6 separate regions of the Homo sapiens genome follow, and all the other regions are linked to region 6. The links are contacts of gene promoters, found by promoter capture Hi-C in blood cells and fetal thymus (Javierre and others, 2016). All regions are on one chromosome and are shown on one strand. Each heading gives the region's core, a stretch centred on a gene start or on the middle of the fragment in contact. The rest is flanking DNA. Distances are from core to core; before and after follow the strand shown. Region 1 overlaps ARID5B (AT-rich interaction domain 5B). Region 2 overlaps CABCOCO1 (ciliary associated calcium binding coiled-coil 1). Region 3 overlaps ARID5B (AT-rich interaction domain 5B). Region 4 has its middle 14 kb from the start of ARID5B. Region 5 overlaps ARID5B (AT-rich interaction domain 5B). Region 6 holds the start of RTKN2 (rhotekin 2).

Evidence for each region. Contacts are between HindIII fragments. The CHiCAGO score rates a contact against its expected background, and 5 or more counts as called.
Region 1: a contact is called between a fragment that was not itself captured here and the fragment with the promoter of RTKN2 in region 6, in 1 of 17 cell types (fetal thymus). The highest score is 5.1, in fetal thymus.
Region 2: a fragment that was not itself captured here is called in contact with the fragment with the promoter of RTKN2 in region 6 in 1 of 17 cell types (total CD4 T cells); the score reaches 5.0 in total CD4 T cells.
Region 3: a fragment that was not itself captured here is called in contact with the fragment with the promoter of RTKN2 in region 6 in 1 of 17 cell types (neutrophils); the score reaches 6.4 in neutrophils.
Region 4: a contact is called between a fragment that was not itself captured here and the fragment with the promoter of RTKN2 in region 6, in 4 of 17 cell types (neutrophils, non-activated CD4 T cells, activated CD4 T cells and 1 more). The highest score is 7.3, in neutrophils.
Region 5: a contact is called between a fragment that was not itself captured here and the fragment with the promoter of RTKN2 in region 6, in 1 of 17 cell types (neutrophils). The highest score is 5.3, in neutrophils.

Annotation. Positions count from the first base shown.
Region 1 is chr10:61,903,058-61,906,107 of GRCh38, forward strand. The region is part of intron 2 of ARID5B (AT-rich interaction domain 5B); the gene reads left to right. Among named protein-coding and RNA genes, the nearest start is that of ARID5B, 2.9 kb to the left of the region's middle. RefSeq lists a silencer at 74-393. The HindIII fragment of the contact is 4,018 bases long and covers 1-3,050 here.
Region 2 is chr10:61,763,797-61,766,847 of GRCh38, forward strand. It overlaps CABCOCO1 (ciliary associated calcium binding coiled-coil 1), which reads left to right. Exons shown (of 8, transcript NM_001366906.2): 8 at 2,143-2,970. The coding sequence ends at 2,217. Among named protein-coding and RNA genes, the nearest start is that of CABCOCO1, 100 kb to the left of the region's middle. The HindIII fragment of the contact is 739 bases long and covers 974-1,712 here.
Region 3 is chr10:61,919,808-61,922,652 of GRCh38, forward strand. All of the region lies in intron 2 of ARID5B (AT-rich interaction domain 5B), which reads left to right. Among named protein-coding and RNA genes, the nearest start is that of ARID5B, 20 kb to the left of the region's middle. RefSeq lists an enhancer at 1,469-1,648. The HindIII fragment of the contact is 7,128 bases long and covers 1-2,845 here.
Region 4 is chr10:61,885,955-61,888,654 of GRCh38, forward strand. No RefSeq gene overlaps it. Among named protein-coding and RNA genes, the nearest start is that of ARID5B, 14 kb to the right of the region's middle. The HindIII fragment of the contact is 2,855 bases long and covers 1-2,700 here.
Region 5 is chr10:61,941,607-61,944,602 of GRCh38, forward strand. The region is part of intron 3 of ARID5B (AT-rich interaction domain 5B); the gene reads left to right. Among named protein-coding and RNA genes, the nearest start is that of ARID5B, 41 kb to the left of the region's middle. The HindIII fragment of the contact is 2,488 bases long and covers 499-2,986 here.
Region 6 is chr10:62,267,310-62,270,187 of GRCh38, forward strand. It overlaps RTKN2 (rhotekin 2), which reads right to left and starts at 1,535. Exons shown (of 12, transcript NM_145307.4): 1 at 1,242-1,535. The coding sequence starts at 1,301. All of the region lies in intron 1 of LINC02621 (long intergenic non-protein coding RNA 2621), which reads left to right. RefSeq lists a silencer at 1,287-1,616. The HindIII fragment of the contact is 2,285 bases long and covers 1-1,620 here.

The DNA of each region.
Region 1 (3,050 bases), core at 186-2,685, 360 kb before region 6:
ACAACTATCTCTCGCCCACTCCCCCTCCCCCCGGACAAGCCATTTGATGTTCTAGTTTGCAATTACTCCACGCAAAGTGGACGTCCTCCTGCGCGATCTTTGGGGGTGTGTGGGACGGGGGCGGGGGAGGGGAGGGCAGAGGGGTGTGTGCTCGCCCACTGGCCCTGCGGGTCCAGCGTTCTCCGTGCCCAGACGGCGCTCCCGGGGAGGGCGGGGAGGGGACAGAGCCTCCCCGGCACGTTTCTGGGCGGCCGCGGGGGCGCTCGCCGCGCTCCCGGGAGGACGCCGGAGGTGAGCCCGCTGTCACTGGGCGCCGGGGCGGCCGCCTCCCTTCGGCTCTGTCATTTCATGTGTGACCGCAGTTCTGCGGGCTCCCCTCCTCAGCTGACCGACCTCAGCGCCGTGGTACCTACCGAGGGGAACTATTTTGGGGAGTCTGTGCCCACGGCGCAGCGGGGAGGGAGGGCGCACTGCCGCCTGGCGAGGCTTTGTGTTGCCAAAGCGAGAGCAGGGTAATCAAACAGACTTTTGAGGGCAGCTAGTGCTGTGCCAGGCTCTCGAGCTTTCGAGGTAGGTGTAAGGATCTAAGGATCTTTTTGTTAAATGAATGGTTTCCCGTTTAACTCATCCCGGGGCTCGGAGCTGCCAGTCCTTCCAGAATTCCTCGGTTTGATCGAGTTGATAGTACTTTTGGCATTGCTAGTTCACTCCCTCTCCCCAGGATCGAATTACTCGTCAGTGGTCTATGCCGGTTAATTACTGGAGTTCGTCGAAACGTTCGCCCTCGAATCTGCCTTTTCGGAAATAAGCCCCTCCCACCTCCCCGCTCACCTCCCCCCTCCACCCTCCCCGGCCAGCTTTGGTTTTTAAATGTTCATATTTCCCGACGTCCGCCTGCAATTTTAAAAAGGTGTTGTTTGGAAATACTGTGAAAAATCCTGCAACCTACCAACAGGTTGAGCTCTTTCCCCCTCCCAAGGTCTGGCTCGGCCCCCTCCCCCGACCCAACTTTCCTGCGCAGCTGTCTTCCTCCCCCTCCCTCTCCCCCTCCTGATTTCTTATTATTTGCTTTTCAAATTTATTACTTCAACATGGCCTGTGATCTGGAAAAGGGAAGGATTAAATATCCAGAAAAGAACTGGTGCTTAACAGACTTCTGACTAAGTCCAGGAGGAAATTATTCAGTGTTTTATGGGATATTTTGTGGTCACTCTTTTTTGGGGGGCGGGGAATTGAAATTGGGATGTTTTTTAAAGACCCTGAGTTGACCCCACTTGGTACAGTTTTAATTTTTGTTGGTGTAATTAAATGGTGAATTCTGATTTAAGAATAAAGGCTATATTTGCCAAACGTTGCATCTGCTAGAAGTGTTGACAGTGAATAGATATATTTTTAAATACACGATTTCTTTTTAATTGTTCATTATGGGGAATTGAAAGGGAACCATTGTAATGATCTGTGCATTTCGTCACTGCTATATGAGCCATACCTGAGAAAATTAATCTTGCCATTTAAAAGTAAACTCTAGGGGGTTTGCGGAGGGAGATGGCTCTATTTATAATCCTCAGCTGCATATACATCGTCTAATATTATGCATGATTTGTTTTTTAATGCTAACACGGCTGGTAATTAGCTGTATGATTATACTTGTATATTTCATTAGGACTTTGGCTGATGTCATTGTGAATTATTCAGCCATATTAAAACAATTTTCAATTGAGATAATGACACGCCTCAAAATTATGCAAATGCAGACTGCATTGTGCAAAATAATTATGACAAATGTAAAGCAGGTAGAAAGTTTCCCAATGCAGATCGGTTTTCCACCCTGGTGATGTCATTTCCCCCCTGGCCTAAGTTAGTCATTCATTAGCAGAATAGCAGCAGCAGTCTTCTCTGGAGGAGAGCCTTACAGAAACCAGCATTTACTGCTGGCACCTAGAGGGGGCAACAGGGCCCTCTCATTAAGAAATTTGCTTTGTTTTCACTTATTCCATTAACTTGTTTATATACATTTAAATGATTTTTATTATTGATTTTAAATAGTTTTGAATGATGCATTTGCCATTTGCAATGTGTAACTGAAAGAGAAAGGTTTCTTGGTGATATGCACTGTTACTTGGAGAAAATGTTCAGCACATTTAATCAGCCAGTACAGTTTATTTTAAGTAACCAAATGGAGATTAATAATTTCTTGATTGAGCTGACATCAGCATCCATTTCGAAAGGACAGCCAGGACTCAGTATGCTTTTTTTGGTTTAAGAGAATCATTCTGCCTTTTTATGATTTCTTGAAATGTAAAGACGTCAGTTCTAAAAGCAGAAAAATGATCATTGTGCAAGATTAGAAATAGCGTCCCTGTGTGGTTTGCTGTGATTTGCAGAGGGTTTTTTTTTTTTTGGAATATTTTCTCATGATTTTTGTAATAAATTGTGGGAGGCTGGATAAGGCAGGACTTTGTACACCCATTTTACAGATGGGGACATAGACTCGGAAAGGTTATGTGGTTTGTCAAAGGTCACCAGGCTAGAACCCAGGCCTCCTTGAAATTCAAGGTTATCTTTTCTCCCCAGTGAAACCTACCCTTGAAAGCAGAGCTTGAATTCATCATATTACATTCTAGAAGTGTGTACTAATGTGAACAGTCCCTCAGACATTTTAGAATTGTAACTAGTTAATCAGTTTTGCCAAAGGTCACCAGATGTCTAGGTAGCAAAACTATCCTTATCCTGTAAAGTTAAGCTAATTCTAATCAGTGGTATATAATGATAACAGTTATATTTTAATAGTTATTAATGAGCATTAACAACTTACTATTCATTTTAATGATGATGGTGATGATTTATATGCTTATATACACCAATGCCTTCATATATAATACTTCCAGTGTTCGCAACTGGTGTTGAGGAAAAGCATTCAAGAAAGTCACATTTTGATTCTGCAGCTTGCTATTTGCTTAATCTTGAACAACCATAAGTACTTGGAACCTCAGTTTCTTCAGCTGCAAAATGGGAACAAAGTAGGGATGACTATAGATTGTTGGTGAAGA
Region 2 (3,051 bases), core at 93-2,592, 500 kb before region 6:
AAAAAAAAGAACCAGACCCAACCATAGTATTTGCAGGATTGCTTGTCTGTTCAGCAAAGTTCTGAAGAATGACAAGGAAACACGGCTAATGACAGCCTGTTATTGACTAGACGTGGAGCCTTTAGATCCAAACTCTGCTGGTTGTGACTGAACTAAAGTACTAAGCCTAAGGTCTGGAGATCTGAGACATTACTCACCTCTGTCAGTATGCCACTCTCTTAGCTGCCCCTTCATGAACCTTTTCCCAAGGCCTACACTTGTTTTGATAAATTCTGTCTCGGTAAAATACCAGAAAGGCCTCCAAGTGAATGTAAAATCCCTATGTGGTAGTGAAACAGAAACTGGTAGATGATAAGCACATCAATCCTTAGCTGAAAAGAAATGAGATTACTGGTGGGCATAGAGGGACATTAATTGAAAGTGGGAAGAATCGATTGTTTGAGTGGCGCAATTCTTCCCAATCCTTTGAAATTGTGGTAAAATTATTTCAAACCATTTTAATCCCTATGTGGTCCAATATGTTGTATCCCATAAATTTATTTTAATAAGGCAGGAGTAACAGATTTTTAAGTATTTCATGACATCATAACAATGAAAGATAACATTGGTGAAGTATATCACAAAATTGGAAGTTGGAATTATGAATTCAAAAACTAAAGTTTGATATTAACATAATCCTATTCCCCTACTTAATTTTTAAGGTAAGAGCTAAAATCCAGGTGGTGAAATGACTTACCTAAGGTGACGTAGCTGAACTAGTACCTAGATCTTCCCAGTCCAAGATCAGTGCTTCTTTCGACCCTACCTAAAATCATGCATAGATGATGATTTCTTTAGAGTCAGTGCATCCTAAAGGAAGAGTTCCTCTGTGACCTGGAGGACCGCTCCATCCCTCCTTGCCTCCTCCACCCAACCACCAAGAAAGGAAAAGATAAGAAACCAGAGGCCGGAGCTTGATCCCAAGGTTTACTAAAGCTTGAACCAGAAAAGACTGATACTTATGTGAGTTCTGAACCCAGAATTGTTGGCACACATACGATCTTTCCAGAAATATCAAATCTTACTGTGAGGTGAAATCAAATCTCATCAGATAAGGCAGCATGGACATGTCACAACTATCTGTTATAGTTACACTCTTGTAAATAAATATGAAAAATTATATCTGGGCTTAAAACAGTATTTGATTTTTTTAAATGTCTTCTATCTAAATTAAAATAATAAAAGGTTTGCAAAGTACAGTTACCCTGAAGCCCTCAAATAATGTTATAGCTATTAGAAATCCAAACTTTGAATTTATTAACACATATGTGTATAAGCTACTCCTTATACAGCGGTAGACATTTTAAAAATCACCTAAACAACAACAAAAACATCAATTTTGCCACGTCAACCACCACTGCTTTTTCTGTATGTAATTTTATTATCCCTTGTGAAAAAGGGAAGACATTTCCAGGGCTACTAATGTTCAGTTAATGTGAACGTATTTATGGAATTGTGCAGGTAGCAATGTGAGTCCACAGAAGATCGCTGCCAGAGGCAAAATGCTATCACCACCTCGGCAATCACAAAACCTGAGAGCAATTGCTTACTTTTTTTACCAAAAATATATCAGAAAGTGGCATCATTCCAAGAGTTCTAATGTATGATGAATACTCTTAATTATGGGAGTTGTTCTAATTGTAAGGTTATTTGTGTTGTTATTTCACAACAGAAGCTTCCTGGGATCTCATTTAGAATGTATTACACGGGAGACACAGACATCCATTGCAGATGGTGGAGGGACCCACAGCACTGCAATAACTGAGCCCAAAGCAGTTATTCTGATTCAGTGCTTATTGGTAAAGTCTGTCTGAAAATACAGATAAATTATCCTATCTTCCAACACAAGGCTTTGTGAAAAATGGCTGTCCAAATACCACTTCCTGTTCATAGCAGACATGCTATACATTGGAAATGTGCAGAGAAATATGATAAAGTGTTATCACATCACTACAGGCTGAAACACAGCTATGTCTGCAAAACAGGAAGGTGTGTGAGGGATAATATCTGTCTTTAGGCACTATAGTATGTCAAAACCACAAAGACAATGTGCAGCAAAAGATAGCTCCATCATAACCACGTTTTTTATGATTGTCTTCACAGACCGAGATAAACGAAAAACTGCAAATACAGGAAGAGGCCTTTAATGCACGAATAGAAAAATTGAAAAAGGCCTAAGGACTTGGTACAAGGAGAGTGATGCTAAACTTCACAGAAACAAACAAAACCAGCCAGAATAACAGACTCTCTGGAGCGTCGTGTCTCCATCACTTAGTTGTGAAAGGAAAACCAAGCCCCACTTTTTATTTTCCTAAGTAATTAGAAAAGTATTGGTCCCAATTTTGCTATCTCCCATCCCATAACAGCCTCTGAATTTATTGCACCAAGTGTAATGAGAACATTTTGTATACAAGAGTTTGAAAAATTATATATAAAAATACAATTACTTTTATGATAGTCCTTTGACGTTTTGACTAATAAATCCTATTCATCTTCAAGGAGAATGAAGTCAACTTTTTAAATAACCAGAAATAAAGAAAGATGATAATAACTTCATCCATTTTGACCCAAACGGACTGCCACGTTACTGGAACACTGTGAAAACATACCAGTACCACACTATTGAGGATAAAATTTGTTAAACAATAGCAATTCAAATGCATATATGAGGTTTTTTTTTTTTTTACTGAAATCATTTGGTTTTCTTATTTAAACGTTTCAGTGTGAAACCAATTTTCTGAAATTATATAATGCAGTTTGAAGCACTTTAATTTATTCTGTACTGTATTTGTTATTTCTAATCTTGTTACTCTCCCAGGAGAATACATGACCTATATAAAAAGAAGCAATGTATAAATGGTTATTAAAGACCAACCTATATATAGATTGTAAAAATCTTAAATACAAATCAAACTCATAGAGTTCCCAGAATTAGCCATTATATTGAAGTGGAATGATTTTTAAAAATCTCAAGTCTTTAAATACCTTTATTAAAATATAATTTCAAAAGAA
Region 3 (2,845 bases), core at 165-2,664, 350 kb before region 6:
TGGACAGACAAGAAAGAGGGCTCTAGTAAAAAGACTGAAGTTTTTTTTTTTAAATGCAGATCGTATGAATCACATAAATGGTGGTGTCTAAAAATTATCAACAAGCTCTGGGTTTGTTTTTATTTCTTTACATTATAGGTCCTCTTTCTCACTCCACATTTTTGATATTACTAGATCAGTAATTCAAGAGACAGCCAAGCAGGTGTTCACATCTCTCCTGACCCCCAGAATTCCTTAAATGACCCCTTGAGGCAGTGGAGTAAAAACATTCTCAGCATGTCAGAATATTGAGATATCTCAGTTGTCTTAATTTTTTTTTCTTTTTGCCTTAATCTTTACAGGCTTTTTGTGTGTCCTTTTTTCTCTCTGCTTAAGCCAAGAGGAATCTTGCTTCAGTCTTGGCCATGAAGATTGAGGGACAGGAGGACAGGGTCTGCAGATTGTACTTACAGTTAATACAGTTCTAACTGCTCAGCTGTGCCAGCTGACTTTTCTAATTGGTCTTTAAAAGATGAATCTTTGTTTTTTTTTTTTTTTTTCCTGAGAAGTTTCACTTTTGTTGCCCAGGCAGGAGTGCAATGGCGCAATCTCGGCTCACTACAACCTCCGCCTCCTGGGTTCAAGCGATGCTCCTCAGGCCTCAGCCTCCTGAGTAGCTGGGATTACAGGCGTGTGCCACCATGCCTGACTAATTTTTTTTTGTATTTTTAGTAGAGACAGGTTTCGCCATGTTGGCCAGGCTGGTCTCGAACTCCTGACCTCAGGTTATCCGCCTGCCTTGGCCTCCCAAATAAAAGATGACTCTTAAATGAGTAGATGGAAAAAAAAGGAAGATGGGGCTTGGAATTCTCATATGGTAGTTAAGGGCATAACATAATATTGCTCTTGAAAAAATATAACATTTATATTTTTAAATATGGGCCTTTGACTATAACCTTTTATTCAATTAAATTCAATCAATATTTATTAGGATGTACCAGGGTACTATGGGGGGTGATAAGGGGATGAATAAAATCAGCTTCTTTCTCTCTAGTTAGAGGAGATCAAACATGTTCAAGTTAGCCATACTTGGCAAGATTATATGGCCTCTTTCATACTGAAAAATACACTCACATTGTTAGATAGTATTCTTAGAAATTTCTATGGATACCCCTCCAAAATGAAAGATCTCTCATACAGGCAGTTGATTTAGGATTTAGGCAGTTGCATGAAGTATTTTACTATTGGTTTGTCGTCAACTCTGCAGAAAATTATCTAATTTCTAGGAATACTTGAAACATATTTAGCACCTCATTTTACAAACTTTATTTTATTGTCATACAATGGTGTGTAAATGTGTCCTGTGTTAAAGATGGTTGTATCGGTTATCTATTGTTGTGTAACAGATTACCCCAGATTTGGTGTCTTGTTAAAACAACACTTACTATCCACAGTTTCTGTGGGTGGCAAGTCTGAGTAAGGCTTAGCTGGGTGCCTCTTGCTAAGGGACTCTCAAAGCTCCAGTCAAGGTGTCCTCCCCAGCTGTGGCCATCTGAAAGCTCTGTAGAGGGAGGATCTATTAATACTTCAGACCCACTCACTTGCCTGTTGACAGGTCTCAGATCTCTCAGGCTGTTGGACTGAGGCCCTCAGTTCCTCTCAGGCAGTGGGTCTGGGTCTCCCTGGCTTCCTTGCTGGGCCACATGGGCCTCTCCATAGGGCAACTCAAACATGGCAACGGACTCCCCTCAGAGTGTAAGGTGTAGGAATGAGACACAAGCCATAGTCCTTTTATAACCTGATGCTGGAAGTGACATCCCATCACTTTTGCCTAATTCTGTTTGTTAGAAGTGAGGCATTATTGTCTAGCCCACACCCAAGAGCAGGAGATTATTAGGAGGTTGCATATAATCTCAGGGGACCATCTTCGAGGCCACCTATTACAGCTGGCAACAGAGCCAATCACTTCAGTGTACAGCTCATCTGATGAGGGTTGAAAGGTATTCTTCTTACTCTGTTTTACTTTTTTCCTTTTTTCCCTTTTATTAGTTGTTTATCTATTTATTTATTTTTGAGACAGAGTCTCACTCTGTCACCTGGGTCGGAGTGCAGTAGTGTGACCACGGCTCACTGCAGCCTCGACCTCCCTGGCTCAAGCGATCCTCCCACCTCAGCCTTCCAAATAGCTGGGACCACAGGCGTGCACCACTGTGCCCGGCTAATTTTTTGATACAGTCTCCTTGGATGGTTCCTCCCAAATATCTCCCCGCTCTTCAGGGCATATAACTATAGATGACATACACAGTAGACTGCAGATTGCCTAATCTTTTGAAGATTTGTTAGTCTTACAGCATGTCAACAAGCCATATCGGGTCTTTTTTACATCTAATGTCTTGATCATTGCATTTGGAGAGTTTTGCTGGAAAGGGCATTGTGTCTGGTTAGATGAGAAATCGGCAGAGAGAAATGAGGAAGGAGGATCCTGTAGCTGATATAAACAGGCTCCTTAATGCATAAGAAAATAGGCATGTTTGGGCCGGGCATGGTGGCTCACGCCTGTAATCCCAGCACTTTGGGAGGCCAAGGCGGGTGGATCACCTGAGGTCAGGAGTTCAAGACTAGCCTGGCCAACATGATGAAACCCTGTCTGTATTAAAAATACAAAAATTAGCTGGGCGTGGTGGCACATGCTTGTAGTCCCAGCTACTTGGGAGGCTGAGGCAGGAGAATCGCTTGAACCCGGGAGGTGGAGGTTGCAGTGAGCCGAGATCATGCCACTGCACTCCAGCCTGGGTGACAGAGTGAGACTCCGTCTCAAAAAAAGAAAATAGGTATGTTTCATGCACAGTGGTTGAGGAGAGGCTTT
Region 4 (2,700 bases), core at 139-2,638, 380 kb before region 6:
AATATGTCTGGTAGCAACAGAGAATTCTTTATAGAAGGAGGTGGGGGCACTTGAGTTGGGTTGCAATGGATCATGAGAGAGAGAATAAGTAGAGGCATTTCAGAAACATAAATGTCATGAACAAAAGAATAATAGTCATAAAAGTTTTCTGTCTTTTCAAGATCCTGGTTCCCTCCATCTGAGATAGAATATTGATGATAACTCAATCACTGAAAGCAATTCCTCTGTGTCTGAAGGCATGCTGAGGTTAAGCAGAGACCCAAGGATTAGGGCACTGGGCACATTTTCTTTGGAGCCTGGTCACTATTCATTACCCTTCCTCAGGGCTAAGTCACTTATCAGTAGCCCATTCTTTGATTCACACACCTGACACCTTCTCACTCTTGTGTTAAGTACTATGTAGACACAACTTAGAGTGTCCAGCCACCTCCCTCCAACTGTGCTACTACCTCCAGGGCTCTACTATTTAGAAGTTCTAAAGTTGCCACAGATTTAGGACTTCTGCCTTTATATTTCCCAGCTACTAAATGATGAGGAACAGCGACATACCAAGGGTAGAGACCCTCAGAGAGGTAGAGAAGATCAATGTTTATAGAGACAAGTATTGGAAGGAGACTGCGTGCCAAGCAAAATCTCTAAATTACCAAAATTGAATTGAAGTGACTTTCTCTCAGGCTCCTCCTCGGGTGGGATAGGCTTTGTGTGAGATACAAAGGAAAAAGAAATCTACTAGTAAAGCACTTTCTATCTGGCAGAGAAGTTAACTGCAAGGTAAAAAGTCACACAATATAGCTGTTTACCCATCCCGAGTTCCCTCAGGGCTCGATCTCAATGAATGGTTTTATTTTTAACCAGAAGATCTAAACTGATCTTCTGTGTTGGGCTAACTAGCTAACGTTCCTATCCATAGGAGATGGTGCTTTAATGCCCAAAGGCCAACTTTATTCTTTCATTTCTGAATCCTACAAATTATTTACATCCCCTTAGAAGCTGCCTTCTCAGTGAACTTGGAGCAAGTTATTTAAATCTTTTTGTGCTTCAGTTTTCTGAACTGTAAAAAGACAGAGTGCTCACATCAGAAGAGTTGTAAGGATGAAAAGAAATCATTTAAAGTATTTAACAGAGCTCCTAGCCCATAATAAGTGCTCAATGAACGTTAACAATTAATTTTACTTTAAACTCACTCTGGTTAGAGTCACTGCCTGTTTTGCACATATGAAAAAAGTTTTCCAATGGCTAAGGCAAGGAAGATCTAGGGGTTTTTGTGTGTGTGGTTTTGTTTGTTTGTTTGTTTCTTTTTGTGACAGAGTCTCTTTCTGTCACCCAGGCTGGAATGCAGGGGTGCATTCCCGGCTCACTGCAATCTTGACCTTCCAGCTTCAGGTGATTCTCCCAGCTCTGCCTCCTGAATAGCTGGGACCACAGGCACACACCACCCTGCCCAGTTAATTTTTTCATTTTTTGTGGAGAGGGGCTTTCACCATGTTGCCTAGGCTCGTCTTGAACTCCTAGGCTCAAGCGATCCAACCGCCTCGGCCTCCCAAAATGTTGGGATTACAGGTGTGAGCCACCTCACCTGGTCTATTTTTATTTTTTATATAAGTAATACATTGGAAACTACCAAACACCACAAAGAAATCTGTAACTGTCTTAATTCTACTATTGACATAAACTTATGTTTTAAGTTAAAAACTATTTTCTTTTTAAACTTAACATTATTTTGAACATCTTTCCATGTCAGTAAACATGGTTCTATTACATTCTTAATATCTGCATATTTTTTATTAGAGTTGTACCATAATTTATTTAACCAATCCACCATTGTAAATTATTTATGTTGTTTCCAACTTTTTGCTATTTTAAACAATGTTCTTACATAAATTTTATGCATTCATTTTTTGTGAACTTCTCCAAAATTGTCCTTAGGATAAATTCATGGGAGTAAAATTTCTGGGTCTAGCAGTATGTTCCAAGGGACTTATTACATACTGTACTGCCAATTTGTCTTTCAGAAGGACTGTACAAACTGGCACTCCCACCAGCAGGGCAAATTCCATTTTCTCACTTCCTCCCCACCACCAGCCACTATTTAAAATATTTGCCAAGTTGGTGGGTCATAAACATAATTTTATTTTTTAATTTTAATACATTCAGCAAACATTTTAATTTTTTCTTCTCTAAAATCCTTTACAATGCCATCAAAAACTTGGTAAAGTGTGTTCTTGAGAGCACAGACCCTGGAGACTGACTACTCGAGTCTGAATTCAGTCTCTGCCTCTGAATTTAATGATTTCAAGCCAGTTACATATCCTCTCTGTGCCTCAGTGTCTTCATCTAGAATGAGAACAATATTAGTGATTGCCGTATAGAGTTAGATGCATGCATGTAAGCACTTAAGGCAATGGACTACTCTTATTGTTTGTCCATTTTTCAGTTGGCATGTTGGACTTCTCTGGGTGGGTATGGTGAGAAGGCAAATTGAGGGACATCCAGAAGAAGTAATGACATAAACAAAGGCACAAAGAGACATTAAGTGTCATGTTAACTCCTACATTTAAATCTTCCCAATATTTTCATGTGTTTTGAAGAACAAAGAACAAGAATGGTTTCATGCATTGTTTTCCACTTCATGAAACCCAATTTAAACCATACGAAACAAGCCTTGACATGTTGTCAACATGAACTTTTCTTGGTCTATGC
Region 5 (2,996 bases), core at 493-2,992, 330 kb before region 6:
ACTGACTGTGGCTTTCATGTGACCCTGGTTTGTGATGAGCTGTGCTGTGTTTTGGGAATAGCATTAATATTTTCTTGCAGTTTGAGTTTAACTATCAACGGTTTCCTGGCATCTTTTGGTTGATGTCAGACAGTAACATTTTAGATATGGCAGCCTGATTGTCACCTGCACATTTAGAGACAATTATTAGACTAGTGGTTTTCCTTCTAAAGCCAAAGAGTTTTTTGATAATCTTCCTATATATACTGTTACACCCCCCAGTTTTGTGAACACACAATAACTAGTCTTATGACTTGCGGTAATGCTGAATAATACATCTGTTGTGTTACTTTCCTAATGTATGATCTAAGTTGTATTACCATTGTCTTATGTTTTCCTTAACATTAAAACCTTTCTTTTGTTTGTTTAATTTTGTGTGTGTGTGTTATGGAATATACTGTTACTAATAAAAAATTAAACAGGAAACCCACAGGGGACAAAAGGATGTGTAGATGGTTAAGCTTGATGTCACACATATAAACAAGAGTATTTATAGCAAGGTTTATGTTTAAAATTGTGTTTAAAATGGATAATTTATTAATGAACAGGAAAATAAGTCTAATTTCTTAATTCCACCCAAAGAAATAAAAGGTTGATCCTCTTGGATTCTAAAAAAAAAGAAGGTCCATATTCTACCTTTTTGCAGTTGATTCCAGAAGAAATTGGTTTATAGTGAATATTCACAGTACTTGCAGGTGGTTTGGCCTGGAAAATCTAGATGAGTGGTTTTTAAATTTAGTTGCTTATTAGACTCAAGAAAGAAATTTAAAAAACAATACTGATTACTGAGACCAGCTTTTCTAGATTCTTCATTCAGTAGGAGTAAGGAAAGGCCAATGAATGTGTATTGATAAAAAGGTTCCTGGCCGGGTGCGGTGGCTCACGCCTGTAATCCCAGCACTTTGGGAGGCCGAGGCAGGTGGATCACCTGAGGTCAGGAGTTCAAGACCAGCCTGGCCAACATGGTGAAACCCCATCTCTACTAAAAATAGAAAAATTAGTCACGTGTGGTGGCAGGGGCCTGTAATCTCAGCTACTTGGGAGGCTGAGGCAAGAGAATTGCTGGAACCTGGGAGGCAGAGGTTGCAGTGAGCCGAAATCATCACACCTTTGCACTCCAGCCTGGGCGACAACAGCGAGGCTCTGTCTCAAAAACAAAACAAAACAAAACAAAAAAGGCTTTTAGGTTGAGTCTGATTTTGTTTGTTTGTTTTGGTCTCATTTTGGAGACAGCTTTATGATTAGTGCTGAAGAAGGGAAAATGATCAACAGGAGAGTTGATTGGGAGGCTCTCTCCTGGGGCACAAGAAACACCATGTACTTAAAAAATTTTTAATGTAAAATACCCCTTTAAGGATAGAATTTAGGGCCTTGAAATTCTACTCAGTTGCTATGAACTGTGGGGAATTTGAGACAAATAGCTTTTGTAATTGGAATGCACACTGTGTTGTAATAATGTGGAAAGAGAAACAAAAACTTTCCTTAATGTAATGAGTTTCCATTATCTGCCTAATCTAAGGTTTGTAAGTCTACATTGTCAGGATTTATATTGAGGAGATAGGGGGTGTCATTTTCTGTACACATTCCTGTCCCCACAACTTTCTCTTCAGCCTCTTCTATAACATCAAAATATTTGTTGTCTGTACTTTTCTTTCTCCGCAGTGGTTTTCTTATCTCCTTTTCTGTTGGTCACACTGAAACCACCTCCAATACCACATTGTTAATGGAAATTCACACACTTATTAGGTTTTTCCTTCTGTAGAACCCTTCCAACTCCTCATTGTTCTTACCAAAGAAAGAAGATGAACTGTGAGATTATTTGAGGCCCCCCCCCTTTTTTTCTGGTGGAAGTAAGCAAAGAACGGAAAGATCTCACCTTTCTATGGATAAAGTAAAACTCCAACATGTTATCGTTTTTTAACTGAGTTATTTCATAATGTTGAAACATGAATAATAACAAAATAATTAGATTGGTTCTTAGAGAAGGGATTTTAAAATATAAAAGCTCATTAAAGCACTTTTCTTGCTTAGTGTTTAGGTAGAATAAGTTCGCTTTAATTCCAGTTTGTGTCACTTCCTGTCTCTCTCTGAATAGTAAAAAAAAAAAACAAGAATGTTCTCACAAATGTGTGTCTGCCAACAAATTAATACTCCACAAAGAGAAACTCTGCCCCACATGGCAGCTTCCAATAAATGCTCTGATTCAAATCACAACTCTTTCATTTTTTTTTTATCCCCTTCCCCCTTGAGGGAGCACATTTAGACAATATTTGAGGATGTCATCTTTCTGCTTTTTAAAACTCTCTAGAGTTTTCATTTAAGACTCTTAATGGTTGATGACTAAAACTACAGATCTGGATAGTGGAAAAACTAATAATCTTAAAAAACACTTCTGAAATGTGGTAAAGTGCATTCATTCTCTTCCCTCCTCTTTGTCCTTTTCAAAGAAAGAAAGTTCAATATGAAACCAATGCAAATTATGACTTTACTCAGTGAGATATTTTACCTTCTTTCAGACTGTTTCATACTGAAGTTTATAAAAAAAAAAGAAAAATAACTATGTTAAAATAGGAGGGTTAAGGAATGTATTATTCATAAGCATAATGAACACAAGAACCTGTTTTTCCAGAAGAATTGGGTTGATTAAATCATTCACCACACAAGCCTCTAGTTATTTATTTTTGTCTTTAGAATTACAGTACTTAGCTTTTATAATAAAGTGGACTTGATACCCATATTTGGTATGGCAGTTGAAAGTAGTCAAATGAAGAATTATTTCATTTTACAAAATTTTTAGTAAGTAAGGAATATAAACACTATCAGTTAAACATAGCAAACTTGCATTTTTTTATTCCTTGGGCTATAGTTTGAAAAAAAAATCAAATTATTTTATGTAACACTGATTCTTACAGAGTTCCTTTAAGCGAAGTATGAAAGCTGCAGTGTAAGCTTTATTG
Region 6 (2,878 bases), core at 285-2,784:
CTTGTCGCTTCTGTACCATTCCTATTCTTGCAGCCTGCAGCTCAATAAATACACCTGGACAGCTACACCTACACCTATATGATAGGTGCAAGAACATCAATAGAATGGCAATTCACTATAAATCAAGATTTTGTTAGCAATCAGGACAGCCAAAGTACATAACAGGACAGGACTGAAAAAAAGTACATCAAAATCTTTGAAATTTTTGAAAATGCTGGCATAAAACAGCATAAGTATTACTGATAAAGACACTGGACTTCTTTTGCATAATGAATCTTAATGTCTTGCTTTATTTTTCACAGTATTATTGAAAACTAATAATTTTGTGTCTGCTAAGGAAATCCCAGATTTTTAAACAAAGATATCAGGTGCCTCCATATGAATGAAATTGCAAATATTCTACCAATTTTGACCTACAAAACTGGCAATTTCATATGGCTTAACCTATTTCTGAAGTAGGTAAAAGAAGGTAGAGATTAAAATAGAAGTGAAGGTCCAGCTTAAAGACATCAGAGTTTTCTTTTAAGACCCTAAAGTTATGGTTAAGAGTGAAAAGTGGTAACATTTTAATAACTGATGCTGCCAAGAAATAATGTTGGTTTAGTAAAAAGTAAAATAAAAAGGTTTCTAACGCATTTTACATGGCTCAAAAGCAAACATCAAACTTCTATCCAATGTCACGTGTACTCCCTCTTTCCTTTCAAATGATTTGAGAAAGAACCCAGTATCAAACCTTCAACTTTTTCTAAAGTGCAGAGGTTGCTGTTTGCCTCTACTCCGCTCCGAACCCCCTCCCCCCAACCAGTTCTGTGTTGTGTGTAGACATCGCTCCATTACTGTGCTTCCCATTAAATCCGTAATAAGCCAGCTGTCCACTGGCCTCGCTGGGTTTCTTGGGAATCGAGGGGCTCCCATTTCCCCGGCATCACCTACACCTGCAAAAAGACAGGCGTCCAAAGCCTGGGGAGGGCAGCGGACAGGTGCGCCCGCAAACGCGCGCCTGGACCCCGGCACCGCCTTCCCAATCCGGACCTCAGCTGCCTGAGAAACTCGGGGGTTCCGATGTCCAGGCCCTTTAGAGCCCCAAGAGCGCAGTCTCCTAATCCCTCCCTTTGTTTCTGGCCACCGCTGAAATAGAGGAGCGGGGGAGAGGCTTTCCCGACTCCTCCACAAAGCAAATGCGCGAGGAACAGAACCCCGGCTCCCTCACCTTCCGCGGCAGGGTCCCTCCCGCAACTCACCTGCTGGGTGGGAAGCCCCGCCAGGCGGAGCGCAGGACCCCTCAGGCTCGGCCCCTCCATCTCCAACGCGAACTGTCCGGGCCGTCGCCACTCCTTCAAAGGGAAGATTTGAAAAGCCCGCCCCTGGCAGGAGCCGCAGAGGACGCCAACCGCCCGGCCGTACCAAGTCCCAGTCGCAGGGGCCGGGGGCGCAGGAGGAGCCGGGCCGAAGCGCACGCGCAGTGGGCGCGCCTTGCGCTCTGCAGCTCCCGCCGCCGGAAGTTGCCGAGACCCCAGGCTCTAGCGCGGCGGGGCGGGGGAGAGGGCGGCGGTGCCGGACTTAAGTCCCGGACAGGGATGTGGGCGGGCCTGGGACGGGAGTGGGAGGGGCCGCGGGGAAAGCTTCGGCGGCGGAGCGCACCTGTCCCAGCTCAGGTTTCTGGCTGGTGGTTTTCGTGGCACGCCCTTTGCACTGGGAGCTTTCTGCCCGCATCCCACCGAAGGCCTTCCAAAGTGATCGTAGCTGGACAGACTCGAGGCTGCAGTCCCTGTACTCCCAGACAACTCAGGAACCCACAGCGTCACTAAGAGCCCACGGTCTCGTTCCTAAAGAACCAATAACATTACTCTCAAACACAGCGCTCTCTGTTTCCTCTCACCTTTCCCAGCGTTGTCACCAGGGTCACCCAGATATCATGGTTTTATTCATCAGGTTCGTGAGATACTATGTCAGGCATTTCACAAGGTCTTGTCTTTGCCCCCAGTGTTTATAATCCCAGATGTTCCCCGCCAACTACTCTGTCCACTTACTTTGTTTTCTTGCGAAGGATTTCTTTCAGCTCTCTCGCCCTCTCTTTCCCTCTCCAACATCTAAGGTGATAGCAAAATGGGGTACTATTTCTCAAGAGCCTCATTTCTTGCTGCCCTAAAGATTAGCACAAAGACCCATTTTAATTCATGGATTTTGTTAATTATAAAGGGAAACATGGGATTTTTAAAAATCAAAATGAAAGCAGCAAAGATATCACACCCTTGAAAAGTCCTTAAAATTCATTGTCCCTAGTTTATCTTTATTTCCCCCTTGAAAAGGCAAGAGGAAGCCTCTTCTTGAAGAGTCTACCAAATCAACCCTCCAGCCCTCATCGCCTAGAAACCCTTGGGCATTTTTCCTCCATAAATAGGTGCCCATGTTTTTTCATTTGCCTGGGACAGACCCTGTCTGGGTCTGTTGTCCCAATGTTGCACCAATCTTGCACTTATCCCGTAGTGGATATTATGTGGTCATTTTAACTGCAAGACCCTTTTAAAAGCAGTTGGTTTGAGAATGTACTTTAAAAATATAATGGATACCCTTCCTCAAATAGGTAAAATGCCTCTTTAAGACCTTTTGGACTAGGTGATACTAGAAGCTTCCCAGTTGGGAATGATGGTCCCCTTGCATTATGAATGACCCATATCCTTACAACAATAAAATATGTGTTCAAAATTATCAACACGGAGCTCACCTCGTTTTCTACAAACACAGGTCTGAATTTCAGAATCATTATGTGCCCTTTCCTCCAATGCACATCTCTGTCTTATGCTACCACTTTGTGGTATAATTATCTCCTACTCAGTATGAGGCTGCATGAGCCTAGCTGTAGTACCTGACTCAAAAG